Regions from separate parts of the Homo sapiens genome. Here regions 1, 2, 3 and 4 are each linked to region 5. The links are contacts of gene promoters, found by promoter capture Hi-C in blood cells and fetal thymus (Javierre and others, 2016). All regions are on one chromosome and are shown on one strand. Each heading gives the region's core, a stretch centred on a gene start or on the middle of the fragment in contact. The rest is flanking DNA. Distances are from core to core; before and after follow the strand shown. Region 1 overlaps TMPRSS11D (transmembrane serine protease 11D). Region 2 has its middle 34 kb from the start of TMPRSS11A. Region 3 overlaps TMPRSS11A (transmembrane serine protease 11A). Region 4 overlaps TMPRSS11A (transmembrane serine protease 11A). Region 5 holds the start of CENPC (centromere protein C).

Region 1 (2,700 bases), core at 97-2,596, 300 kb after region 5:
TCTTCACACATTTCATGTTCCCCTAAGGCATAAGACCAAACAAGGATGCTAGTGTCAATCCTGTTTAATGATTTAACTATTTGTTAGAAAGTAACAAAGCTAAGTTTCTTTTTTTGTTTTCTGTGTCTTAAGAAAAGTAATTTAGAGAAAAAATACATGTAAAATGACCTTTGAGTATTTTATTTCAGCACTCCAATGAATTGTTGGTCCTCCCTGGGATGCATATCCTCATTTTGGAGATGACTGTGAACTCCACCGTGACTGTAATCATGTCCTTATTTTGTGTTTCTTAGACACTTGCATCATTTATTCACTCAGTCAACAAATATTTGAACACCAAGTATGTGCCAAATTCTCTTCTAGGCTTTCAGTAACAATCAATTCTTGTTAAATGGATGTGCCTGAAAGGAATTTTACCCGAAATCCCTGATGGTATAAGTTATGTGATAAGATTAATTTTAAATTAATATTGCTTTCTTTCTCCTCCCATGTTCTAGTTTGTTTATGGAAATGCCATTCAATATATTTTGGGAAAAAAGTATTTGTTGTTTGCAGACATTTGTTTCAATGTCACTCCTGATGGCAAAGGAGAGATTTAATGACTCAGTTTATCCCAGGTATTAATCCTGATTGAAGTCTTTTGTTTTATTTGGAGAAAACCATGTAAGTAGAATGCATTCATAGTTTTGATACATGTACTTTGTAAACAGGTACTTTCGTTATTTCTAAATGGCCTCATTCATTTACTTATTCAACAATTGTTTTTGAGCATCTCTTGTGTGCCACCACCTCCCGCCCTCCTTCTGTCAGGTATTGGAATACAACGATGGATAGAAAACAGTAATCTGGCCATCATGAAGCTTATGTCTAATGGATGGAAATAGACCTAATCAAATAATCATTCATAATTAAGTAAAATTATAACTGTGAAAAGTGCAGCAATACAGTAGAGGGACCTGAGCCAATTAATGATATTAGAGACATTTCTTAGAGGAAATGCTTATTGAGCTGAGATTGTCAGGAAGAATCAGACTTAGCTGATTGAAGTGGAAGGAAAAAGGCTCCTCAGCAGAATGAATGGCACATGCACAGTCCTGAGGTGGGAGGAAACAGGTTGTACTTAAGGAATGAAAGAAAGCCAGTGCAACTGTACCATGGAGAGCAAGTAGGCTAGGGTGACAGGAAATTCCCAATCATGCCGGTCTTCGAACTTGAAGCATTTGGTTTTATCATAAACAATGGGAAACCATGGAAGTGTTTGAAGCAAGAGGATAATATAGTGGGATTTGCAATTTGAGAACAATCTGTCTTGCTACATATAGATAATCAGTTTTGGAGAAAAAATAATGCAAATGAACAGATTAGGTTTGTTGCTATTTTGGTACCCTAGGGTAGAGGCGATGGCTTGGATAGTCATGCAGCAATGGATATGGAGAGAGGTGAATGGATTTGAAGGAAATACAGGGGATTAAGAATACAGTGGCTGCTGATGGATAGGATATTTGGAATGATAGTAGAATTTTAAGGATGAATTCTAGGTTTTTGATTTGGATAACTGAATAAATGGTATTGCTATTAATAGGGATAGGTATTGTTGGTGGAAAGCTAGGATGGTGTGGGGACATCATGAGTTTGATTTTGAGAGATAATATATTTGAGTTGTTTTGAAACAGCCATGTAAGGATATCAAGCTGGTAACTAGAGTACAAAAGAATGTCTAGGCTGGAAATATAGTGAATCATTGGCGTATAAATACAGGTTGAAGTAATGGGCATGTATGTATGGGATCATCTAGACAGAATGATAGTGTCAGAGGAGAGGTGGACATAAGTAAAGCTTTGAGGTGTTTCAATATTTAATGGCAGTGTAGAGGAGGGGGAGCCTGTAAAGAACACAGAGAAGTAATGACCAGTGAGGCAGGCTGGGAAAATGAGGTGAATGAGTGCCATGAGTATATCACATTAAAAATAACAAAATCATAGATTTTTTGTGTAAGAATGTACTATAGAAATTATCTAGTCCAACTATTTTATTTTACTCGTGAATAAACTGAGGACCAGAAATGACAAGTGAATTGCTAAATAAAATAAAAAATTCTGAGACTATTTCACTGCTCATTCAGTGTTAACACTTTGTCTATGGGATAGAGATAACAATAATACTCATATTATCATGAGAAATGGTATGATCCTTAGATTTTGAGTCAAGAGACCCTGGTTTGAATTCTCATTATACCACTTTCCAGCTCAATGGCCTTTGATGCGTTTCTTAATCTCACAATCTTTACTTACCAGTCTATACAAATGATTTATAATTTTTATGGCATTGTATTAGAGTACTATTCATGTATCATTTTAAATGTTCAAAGTGTTTTTACAAAGGGATACATATGTAAGATTAACTAGGGAACTCATACATCAGAAGAATTTCATGGAAATCTTGAAATACTAAATATATTGTCAAGCCACAGTACTCTAAATATCCTACTGCTGCAAGCAAAGATTACTTACAGAAAGAGATTAGAGTACAGAAAAAAAGACAAAGAAGGATTTAGTGTATGATAAAGGTGACATGACAAATACATCAACTGCACTATTTAACACACTTAGTGTTTAATAGTGTGTTAAATAGGTGTTTTAACTAGAAAGCATCATCTACAAACCAGAAGGTGGCCCCTCAGACACCAGATCTGCTGGTGCA
Region 2 (2,700 bases), core at 45-2,544, 450 kb after region 5:
GTAACAAGATTTCTAATTAGATATGATTGGCTAAATCTTGGGAGGTAGGAGAAGAGAACCTTAGTAGGTCCTTGTCTCCATTTCAAAGTGCAGGAAAATAAAAAAATACAATCAAATATCTATTAATTTACTTTGATGCCTTACAAACCCACAATGTTATTGTGAAATGTATTCAACTTATGAGAGTAGACAGCTCATTGCACAGTATTCTGCACACTATTGGGCTTTGAATGATTCATGATGAAGTAGCAAATCACTCCCAAGCTCTGGGAGTAGGAGGTGTTAAGTTTAGTTAAGATTATAGAGGTAAGCGTAATGGTGCTACTCAAGTAGTAGATGTTTTCCTTTTCTACTTTTATCAGGAAGTGGCTTTAAGTCTTAAAGGATTTAATTCCCCTTTATACTCATCACCATTTCCTATAGAACAATGCAGATCCCTCAGAGATGAGGAAAATTTGATTATATAATCTGAGATTATAACGATAGTGCATCCACCTAGACTCAACATCAGAATTTTAGAGTGTATATTGGAGGGAAGCCGACTTCTATAAAAATTAACTGATTAGACTCATATGACTTCATAATAAGAGCTTGAAACAAAAATTAGAAATTTGAGGGCAGATTAAACTCTCATATGTAAAAAGTCAACCAATAGACATAAAAATGGGAAAGTCATATCAGGATCTAAACATCTATGTTTGTAGTTTATTGTCAAATTTATAAAGTTTCAGGTTGAAGAACAGCTCCATAGATACACGGATCAGAGGGATCCCATTTAATATTTAGGGCCAGGTAAAGAATAATCATTCAGTTTATTCATTTAAGGCTCTTTCTGTTTAGTTGCATGATGCATTGCAAAAGCTTATCATTACTAGTGCTTGCAAATTATACACTTTATGAATCAAGCAGCCATAGCAGAAACTACACATATGAAAGAAAGCATTTGAAAGAAAAAATGATGTAAAAATATGCTTTAATAAATTTGGAAAATAAAGCTCTAACCAGTTTCCAAAATAGTCCATATAAAGACAATAAATATAGGTACCGTGTAATAGTAATGGTGCTAAAGTTTTTGAAATTCACCACATCTGTTTCTTATTTGTTTGTTTTTGCCATATTTATAATGGGACATCTGATTTCATCTCTTATTTATTTTGATTTTGTATTTTATTTCATATCTCTGTTCAAATGAAGGATAGGTTTATATTTTTTGCTTTGTTGTTTTACTGAGATACTCACCATCTAATTTAAGTGCTCCCCATCCAGTGACAAACACTTTACTCTTAGGCAAGGCTTCAAAAGTAGCTTCTGGAAGACAGACTCTGTGCACCTCATTGGAAAATATGATGGGGGTGAAGAGCTTCACTACAGCGATATCATCCTCGTGTTTATGGGCAGCATAGTTCTCATGAATAATAATTGACTCCCCCTTTCTTCTCATTAGTGAGGGATTCGGGTTATTCCAAAACTAGCCATCCAGAGTTTGGGTTTTTCTTCACTGATCACAGAGTAAAAGGAATACAGTTGGTTCATTTCTAATTTAAATTTGCCCAGGACTGTGGATGGGCAGGGGACATAAATGTGGGAGAAGGGCAAATTTTTTAAGGTAATAATTGATTGGGACCATCCCACCTTCTTATCTGAGGCTTCTCTCCTAAGACTGCTTTGCTTTCATCTACTTGCTAACAAACCGCCATTCCAAGGTAGCTTAAATTACTGTCCTTGAGGGAAGCTTGTATTTTTATATTATTCCACATTATCCTATATTATTGCCATTTTTGACTATAAAAATAATACAAATTAATTTAAGAAAACAAATAATTATAAAGTAGACATATATACACGTAGATTCACATATACACTCATATCAAGGCACAATCATATAAATGTATGTATAGTTATAAAGAGAAAGAGAGGTAAAATTGGAGCGATATTTTATATATTTATATTGTTTCCTTATGCTTTCTTTTTATTTAGCATCTTATCCAGAATATTCTCCCATTTTATATAAATTTTACTAGGGTTACTGTATCTCTTTATTATTTCCAAGTGTTCTATATGTTAAATTGTCGAAAAATATACAAAGAATAAAAGCACAGCACCAAAGGTATTCATGTGGGATCACCAGATATAACCTATAGTTTAGAATACTATTAACAGAGTTTTTTTTTTAATCTAAAATATCTCTCAGGAGAACTGGTGAGTGTGTATAATTTTTCACAATGCTGGCTTGTTCCTACTTAAAATTGAGATTGTTGGAGTGTATATTTTCAGGTGGAACTGAAGATACTCTTTCTAATTTTTTCTGCTCTTCTTCAGTTAACTGTCTTTTATTCCTAAGCCTGCTGGACAATCATAAGTGGCACCGGGAGGCCTAAGATGTTTTCTTCTTTGGGTGTTTGTTTGTTTGTTTGTTTTTTGAGATGGAGTATCACTCTGTCACTCAGGCTGAAGTGTGATGGTGTGATCTCAGCTCACTGCAACTTCTGCCGCCCGGGTTCAAGTGATTCTCCTGTCTCAGCCTCATGAGTAGCTGGGACTATGGGCACGTGCCACCAAGTCCAGCTAATTTTTGTATTTTTAGTAGAGACGGGTGTCACTATGTTGGCCAGGCTGGAGCCTAAGATGTTTATAAAGGAAATGTAAAAGAGAGAACTATAGGATGTGAAGAGATGAAAAAGAGGTGAAGCTGGTGATCCC
Region 3 (2,700 bases), core at 54-2,553, 390 kb after region 5:
GATATTATATAAGAGGGATTTTTAAAAGACACTTTTAGCCTTAAATAAAGCTTCACTGAGGTTTCATTGCCACAAGGATTGAACTCAAGGTAAAAATAGGGAATTTGAGCCTTTGAGCCTCTGTCCACAATGTTAGACATTCAAGGTCCTCTCCCTCTGTGACCAACTTGCCTGGCTCCATCTTCAACACCACCAGTACTTTCAGGCATGGCCCTCATTTTCCTGCATACTCACGCCTCTCAGGCTGTTCCTTTGGTCTGTAACAACCTTCTCATTCTGCAAGTTCTGTGTTCCTGAATCACAACTATCCTTCAAGGCCAATCTCAGATAATACCTTCTTTGGGGATATTCGTTAATCTCAAACTGACCTGTCTTCCCTCTGTCTCAATTTTTCTTATCCCTCTTATACCTTTTATTCTTTAATGTAAACATATATTATATATTTATGCAATATATTCACTATATATTTATGCAAATATATAGTCTCTTTTATTAAACGGCAAACCCTTTATGCATAGAGATGGCAATTTATCTTTTCATAGTCTATAAAATCTAACATAGTGCTTTGCATGCTGTTGGTATGTAGTATATTTTTGTTGAATTAACAAATTGATAAAAAGGTGAGAATTTATTTATCAGAAAGTTTTGCATTTACCAGGAAAATTTTATAAGACTTTTTAAAGTGCTTGCTTTACATCAGGTTGAGATCAATGCTCCTAGAGAAAAAAGAAAATTACACATGAATTATCGGAAGAGATTTTTTTTTCCTGTTTTTGGACATTTTAGGTAATTGATTATTTGTGGAAAGCTCCTCCTTGGTAAGACTGTAATAATTATAATAGTGGGAATCACTGTTGTCTGCCATATATGCACCAAGCACAGATGTCATTGTGTTTGAGCTCATTTGCTTTCAAATCAGCCCTCTAAGGTGAGTACTATGATTATTCACGTTTCATAGAAGAGGAAGTGACTTGCCCAAGTTGACACCACAGAGTTCACTGAAACCAGGGCCATGTAGCTTCAGAGCCTGTTAACGCCTTCACAGTGCCTACCTCAGGATGAGCATGCAGGTAGGTTCTCACTAAGACCTCCTACCCACTGATGGGCAGCAAGCAGTTTGTAAGAGGATCAGAAACTGTTGCACCCCTCTCCAAAGGCAGCCTATTTTCTTTACTCTCCAAAAATAAGAATCATAATCTTGGTAGTTTTTAGTGCAGTCCTTTTAAGTTCGTATCATATCTGTATAAAACTCTAGGTGTTTTTTTTTTTTTTGGATCCAAGAAGTCAGCTATGAACCATTCTCTCAAGCCTGGATAGAGCTTAGTCAACCTGAGCACTGAGTGATGCTCACAGAAGGCTTTTTGGCCTTCTTGGGGTCAAGCCTAACTGCCACATCTTTAAGTGCTGTGTCTATTGGAGAAAGCAGTTGGATCCAGTGTCATACAAGGTGTGTGGGTGTGGAGGGTGCCATGAAACTGTGACTTTCTGATCACCCTAAACAAAAAGGTAATCAGATCATCAAATGGGATGTGATATTTTGTGATGCCATCAGTCATTTCTTTGATTGCACTGGTCCTTCTTCAGTGTTTCTTTGTGGAATGTCAGAAAGAAATGGACAGACATCTGTCACTACTCACGTGTAACAAGTAGCAATATATTAGATATCCATATCCCAAATTGGCTTATATTTCTGAGATCACAAGGCAAAATATTTATAGAATTTAAAGATTTGCAATTAAGGATTTTAAAGAAAAAAGTATTAATTCTCAGTGTACAACAAAAACCTAGATCTTTGAATTGCTTTTGTAAAAGAGGAAAATATCTCATTTGGATCTATTTAAAGCTGTACTAAAAATATTTAAAACCAGGATACCCAAAGCAAGGGAAGGTCATTATTTAGAAGGTTCATGTCCTCTCCAGATTTGTTGTCTTCTAAATCTCTAAATTGGATTAGTTTATGAGAGAGAGAGAATCATTTTTCTTAGCCTTTTGTAGTGCCTAACATCATGCTGTATTTGCTGAATGATGATGATAAACTAAATAGATTCTCCTGTGAAGACTATGCTGTATTTACAACTTTATCAGGAAATTTAGAAATAGTTCATATTACTTCTTTTCTCAAAAACTTCCCTCAAAAAGCATACCCATCCACACCTTTCTTCCAACTATAGATTGTTCACACTAGATGTACATACACATGTCAATATATCCATCAGCTTCCTTCATCTTTCTCTATTACAGTTCCTCCTACCTTTGCCTTCCTCACCAAAAACTGATACAGGGAAATGAGAAAGAGAATATTTTTCTCTAATAAGTATACCTAATGTATCTGTCAAGAAAAAGTTAGCTAGCACAGCATAGAGGATTTATAATCTTCATGGATTTAAAAAATGAAATGAGAGAAGAATTGATTTAGATTTTAATAATTTTATCTTCTGTCTTAGCTGAGTCCCTTCCTGACAGTAGAACAATTTAGTGGAAAGAGCACATGTGTGGAGTTGCCTAGATGACTTCAAATCTCCCCTCCATCATTTTCCAGCTATGGACCTTAATTTCAGAAGCTTGGTTCTCTTACCTGTAAAGAGGAGATAAAAGTGCCTTCCTTGTGGTGTTACATCCATGTTGCTGCAAAGGACATGATTTCATCCTTTTTTATGGCTACATAGTATTCCATGGTATATATAGATATATATACATATA
Region 4 (2,700 bases), core at 114-2,613, 370 kb after region 5:
TATACATCATATATATATAAATGCATTAAACGGCAATGATTTCACTTCCAATGTATTACAAGTTGGTGGCTGCAGACTGTAAGCTAGGTTCTGAGTTTTAGAAACCATTATTATGGCAGGCTACGTAGAAAACTAAGAATAGCACAAGCATTCAGGGATTCTTTATACCAAACCATATATTGATTGGGAAACCATGACCCCATGGTTGGCAGAATTCTAGGATAGTCCCCAAGATTCCTGTGTGATTCCCCTCCTCCCAAATATGGGCAGGATCTGTGAATATGAGGGATGCCATTCTCATGATTAGGTTATGTTATATGGCCAAGATGAGGGAATTTTACAGATGCGATTAAGACCTCTAATGAGTTTGACTTTGAATTCATCAAAAGGAGATTATCAAAGGTGGGCCTGACCTAATCAGCTGAGCCATTTCAAAAAGGGCGAGCCTTGCTGGAGTTGAGACACTTTCCTAAAGAGTTAAAGCAGCAAGCTGGCATGCATTCTACAGCTGCGAGTAAAGGAATTCTGCCAGCAAACCTTGAGGAGACCTTCAAAGGAGCCACAGATGTGGCCACAACCCCAGCTGACACCTTGATTACAGTTTGGTGAGACCCTGAGAAGAGGACTCAACTAAGCTGTGTCTGAACGTCTGACTCATGAAAACAGTGAGATAAAAATAAATGAGTGCTGTTTTAACTGTTTGTGATTATTTGTTACACATTTATAAAAAACTAATACAAGAATACGATATATCATCAGCTATAGTCACCATGATGGATGAGAGATCTCTTGAACTTTTTCTTCCTAACTGCAAATATGAATTTGTTGACCAGCATCTCCCTAACTCCTTCCCCTGTAAAGACCCCCAGCTTCTGGTTGCCTACTGTTGATATATCGTATTCTTGAGAAACGCTACAAGAGTAGATATTAAGTGTTCTTGCCACAAAAATGATAATTATGTAAAATAAGACGCTTCTTAGTTAACTAGATTTAACACTCACAGTGTACATATACTATACTTCAACACATTATGTTGCACATGGTAAGTACATGCAATTTTATACATCAATTAAAAAAAAAACTAAGTACATTTGAAAAAACCCTAATACACCAGTTTCTTTAGAAGACGATTTCCAAGATTTATTTCTGAAGAAATGTTTGTAAACACATATTTAAAAGTGCTCGGAAGATTTAAGTGTGTAACTCAGAAATATGCTAAGAGATTTTTCAAATTATTCTGTTATTTGAATACAATTGGTTTATATATATTATACACACACACACACACACACACACACACACATTTATATTGCCTACTATATCATCAATTAAAAACATTCATGGCCTGGCGCGCGGTGGCTCACGCCTGTAATCCCAGCACTTTGGGAGGCCGAGGCAGGTGGATCACGAGGTCAGGAGATCAAAACCATCCTGGCTAACACGGTGAAACCCCTTCTTTACTAAAACTACAAAACAATTAGCCGGGCATGGTGGTGGGCGCCTGCAGTCCCAGCTACTCGGGAGGCTGAGGCAGGAGAATGGCGTGAACCCGGGAGGCGGAGTTTGCAGTGAGCCGAGATCACGCCACTGCACTCCAGCCTGGGAGACAGAGCGAGACTCTGTTTCAAAATAAAAATAAAAATAAAAATAAAAATAAAATAATGGTGAGAAGAGTAAGGTGAAACTGACAATCTAAGTATTGTAAGTAGGTGACAGTGCAAATCCACAACTTCTTCAGCAAACTAAACTGGTTGGTAAAATGTATTCCAAGTCATGAAAAGCATAGCCCATAAATTCTGGACATCCCTGAGCTATATCTCATCTTCTGTAAAAATGCTTAATGACATTTCTAGCAAAATATTGATTTTATCAAATAATCAGCTTTTTATTTATCAATTTTCTATAGTTTATTTTTAATTTTATTCATTTCTATTCTTATTCTTATTATTTCCTTCCTTATGTTTGTTTTAGGTTTATTTTTTATTTTTCTAGTTTCTTGAAGTGAGAACTTAATTATTGATTTGATATCTTTCCTTATAATATGCATTTTCTATAAATTTCCCTTTCTACACTATTTTAGCAGCATCTGGCATATATTTATATATTTTTGTTTTCATTTAGTTCTATTTGTTTTTACAAATTTCTTCGAGATATTCTCTTTATTTACATATGTTTTTTAATTGGTAAGCATTTGGGGATTTTTATGTTATCTTTCTGTTACTGATGTCTAGTTAGATTCCATTATGATCAGAGAATATACTTTGTACAATTTCAATTTTAAAAAACTTCTTAAGGTTTGCTTTACAGACTTGAATATAGCCTCTCTTGGTGAGTAACGAATGGCTGCTTTTAATCTATTAATGTACTTAACAGATTAAGAATGATAGGTTAATTTAATCTATTTAATAGATTAAAAGCACCTGTGGGTCACTCACCAAGAGAGGCCGTGTTCAAGTAGGGTGGAGTGCTCTATAAGTGTCAGATTCTGTTGCCACTCACAGCGCATTATGACAGGTATGTTTCTGTGCCAGTCTCAAACTCCTGAAAGTGATTTTTCCCACCAAGCCAAAGGGGATTTGTGATGTCTTTCCCACCACTATGAAGCAGAGAATGCAAGCCCTATCTTCAGAGAAAATCCATCCAAGAGAGTGCAGACCTAGGGAGGTGTCAGGCTTACAGCAGCACTAGATCTACTAGAAT
Region 5 (2,700 bases), core at 151-2,650:
ACGATGAGAATAAAAATAATCTTAAAAGCTTAAGTACGTAAATCACCTGGAAGGTCGACAAAATCTTCTTCTGTAGCCATTTTTGAGATGATCCTGAAAGAAAAGTAAATCATCAATTTGGTTTCTTTAAGATAGAGTCGAGTAAAATTTATTTTCAAAGTAACTTCATCCAGTATGGGCATGCTATACACCAAACATCTCCTAAGGGCTCAAAACAATTTTGAGGTTATGTTATGACATAACATAGGTTATGACAGGCATTTAAAAACTGAACTGCAGGCATCTGGTAAGCTTTATTCCGCTTCTCTCCCCACAGTGAGAATGGCTTTATTGCTTTCTTCTGATTATATATAATGTAAACAATATATGTGCTCATAGTAAAAAGTATAGATTATATTATTCTTTCATACAACTCTTTATGTTTATATGTATAACGTCACATAATGGGAGATCATCGAAGCTGAAGATTTTCTTAGAAGGGGAGATAAATTAGAAAAGAAATGATACGGATTTTTATATAGTAACCATAACCAAAGTATGAAATATAGAATAGTGAACACCAAAGAAGTCCAGAAATATGTAAACAAAATGAGTTGTCGCCCCCATTAGTCATTCACAGCTTGTACCTTTTAACTGATAGCTGTCTTTCAGAAGAGTTTGTCAATAACATATGCTCCATAAATCAGCCTCAAGAACTGCATAAAAGGCCACCATTTTGACAGAAGAACTGAAAACGTCAAATTATTTCGAGACGTACTTGTTACATAATCTGTTTCTCCCAACTACCAAGTGTGACGCAAAGACACACTTTTAAGGCGTTTCAATACTTCTACCATGGGGAGAAAAGTTATTTGGAGGCCTAGGAACTGGAGCTAGACTAAAAAGCAGAAGCCAAGATCGCGCCACTGCACTCCAGCCTGGGGGACAGAGCAAGACCCCGTCTCAAAAACAAAAACAAAAAAAAACCCAGCAGAAATCACAAGCACCTCTCAAGAGTAAGACGTAGGCACAGACGAAATGACGACATGAAAACTTAAGAAATAATAAAAGTACAGTAAATTAACTCTGGTTATCGACACACGATCACACTTGATTTCAAAAATTCCTGCGGCTTTCCCACTGAAATCCCTCAGAGATCACAGCCTCAGCCTAGCATTTCCTTCTCCCCAGCCTCGGGCGCCCGTGCCCCAGCCAGCCGCTCAACCACTCGCCTGGAGCGGGGGGCCTGCACTTACCAGACCGGACGCAGCCATGTTCCGGCCCCGCTGAGCCAGCGCAACTGTCTGAGGTGGAAGCCCACACGGACCACAGCTCCAGGAAGCCGAGCAAGAAACGAATCGCCGGAATACCAGGCCGCGGCCAAGCAATAACCTTAAGTCTCAGGCGACTGCCGCGAGAGCTGCGATCCGGAAGGCGCGCGCTAACAACACTCCCCCGCCATTGGCTCCGCCCTCAACAAACAAGAACGCTTGGCCTGTGCCTGGGTTTGAACCCGGAGACACATGCGCAAAACGGGCCGCGCCGTCCAATAGGAAGCAAGCCGTTAGTGGGCTCGCCCCTTCATGCTCCAGGCCAACGGCCCTCCAGCCTGCAGACCCACCCGCCCGCCCTACCTCTAGCCGCTCTGCTCTTCCCACCTCCCTTCCTCAGCGCCGCGCCCGGGACAGGCGCGAGACTGGGCTTTTATTAGGAAGGCACGATCCTGGGAACCGCTCCTTGTGCCCAATGTAAAACTTCTCAACAGTTCTATTAAGGAATAATAAGTAATACTTGGAAGGATGAGAGGTAGAAATTGCAGACGACTTTTTTTTTAATAGAATCTTTTTTTGAAGAGATTTTTCTAATGCAGATTCGTCAGCCACGCCCAGCCCATCTAACCATCATCTCTGAAAATAATTGAATAATTATGTATAATAATGGTGATGATGGCTTGTATTCTTTTTCAAGTATGTGGGCGATATTTTTATGATGCATTGCCAACAAATGACCCACGTAAATATCTATCATTTAAGTATGATGCACTGAAAAGAATTCTATACAGAATCCTGAAACCTGCCAGCCATTGACTAGCTATGTTATGGAGGGCAAAATTGCGGCACCATTCTGGGTGTTTCCATAGTGATAGAATGGAAGTCTAAATTAGACGCTCTGAAGACTTCTCACCTGACCAGTGTATGATTCTATGAAGCTGTATCTTATTTTATTATTTAATTTAAAATTACAAGAAAATTCTAATCAGAAAATAGTTTACTAATTGAATAAATACATTAATCAGGAGTTGAGCTAATAGATTTTTAAAACATGTAGTGCTTTAACAAATGCTGTCAACTATGAAGGCCAATTTTTTTATTTTATTTATTTTTTTGATAGAAAAAAAGGAACTATGATCTCTGACTGAAATTAGGCCTGGATTGCACTCCATTCCATTAATTCTGCCATTATGGGCAACTAAGTTATCTGTTCCTTAATTCTCTTGTCTGCAAAATGAGAATACTATTAAAGTGGTTGAGATGTTGTAATTGAATAATTCCTGTTAAGATCTAAGCACAATGTTTGGAACATAGTAAGAATTCAATAATAAAGCTATTGGAATCATTATGGAGAGTTTTTTACTATGTTTGGCAGTTTTGCCAATCAGTCCAACTTATAATTTGGTGCTGTCACATTTGGAATAGATAATGATAAACACTAACATTTATT

The links. The method cuts DNA at HindIII sites, captures the fragments that hold promoters and counts their contacts. A CHiCAGO score of 5 or more calls a contact.
Region 1: a fragment that was not itself captured here is called in contact with the fragment with the promoter of CENPC in region 5 in 2 of 17 cell types (fetal thymus and megakaryocytes); the score reaches 6.0 in fetal thymus.
Region 2: a contact is called between a fragment that was not itself captured here and the fragment with the promoter of CENPC in region 5, in 1 of 17 cell types (fetal thymus). The highest score is 6.6, in fetal thymus.
Region 3: a contact is called between a fragment that was not itself captured here and the fragment with the promoter of CENPC in region 5, in 2 of 17 cell types (fetal thymus and erythroblasts). The highest score is 10.8, in fetal thymus.
Region 4: a contact is called between a fragment that was not itself captured here and the fragment with the promoter of CENPC in region 5, in 14 of 17 cell types (naive CD4 T cells, total CD4 T cells, fetal thymus and 11 more). The highest score is 23.9, in naive CD4 T cells.

What each region holds. Positions count from the first base shown.
Region 1 is chr4:67,847,629-67,850,328 of GRCh38, forward strand. All of the region lies in intron 3 of TMPRSS11D (transmembrane serine protease 11D), which reads right to left. Among named protein-coding and RNA genes, the nearest start is that of TMPRSS11D, 35 kb to the right of the region's middle. The HindIII fragment of the contact is 976 bases long and covers 859-1,834 here.
Region 2 is chr4:67,996,093-67,998,792 of GRCh38, forward strand. It overlaps the pseudogene TMPRSS11GP. Among named protein-coding and RNA genes, the nearest start is that of TMPRSS11A, 34 kb to the left of the region's middle. The HindIII fragment of the contact is 871 bases long and covers 860-1,730 here.
Region 3 is chr4:67,935,077-67,937,776 of GRCh38, forward strand. All of the region lies in intron 3 of TMPRSS11A (transmembrane serine protease 11A), which reads right to left. Among named protein-coding and RNA genes, the nearest start is that of TMPRSS11A, 27 kb to the right of the region's middle. The HindIII fragment of the contact is 2,511 bases long and covers 49-2,559 here.
Region 4 is chr4:67,915,201-67,917,900 of GRCh38, forward strand. The region is part of intron 8 of TMPRSS11A (transmembrane serine protease 11A); the gene reads right to left. Among named protein-coding and RNA genes, the nearest start is that of TMPRSS11D, 33 kb to the left of the region's middle. The HindIII fragment of the contact is 3,058 bases long and covers 1-2,700 here.
Region 5 is chr4:67,544,103-67,546,802 of GRCh38, forward strand. CENPC (centromere protein C) reads right to left here and starts at 1,401. Exons shown (of 19, transcript NM_001812.4): 1 at 1,236-1,401; 2 at 47-93. The coding sequence starts at 1,253. RefSeq lists enhancers at 1,156-1,395, 1,173-1,723 and a silencer at 1,546-1,685. The HindIII fragment of the contact is 5,245 bases long and covers 290-2,700 here.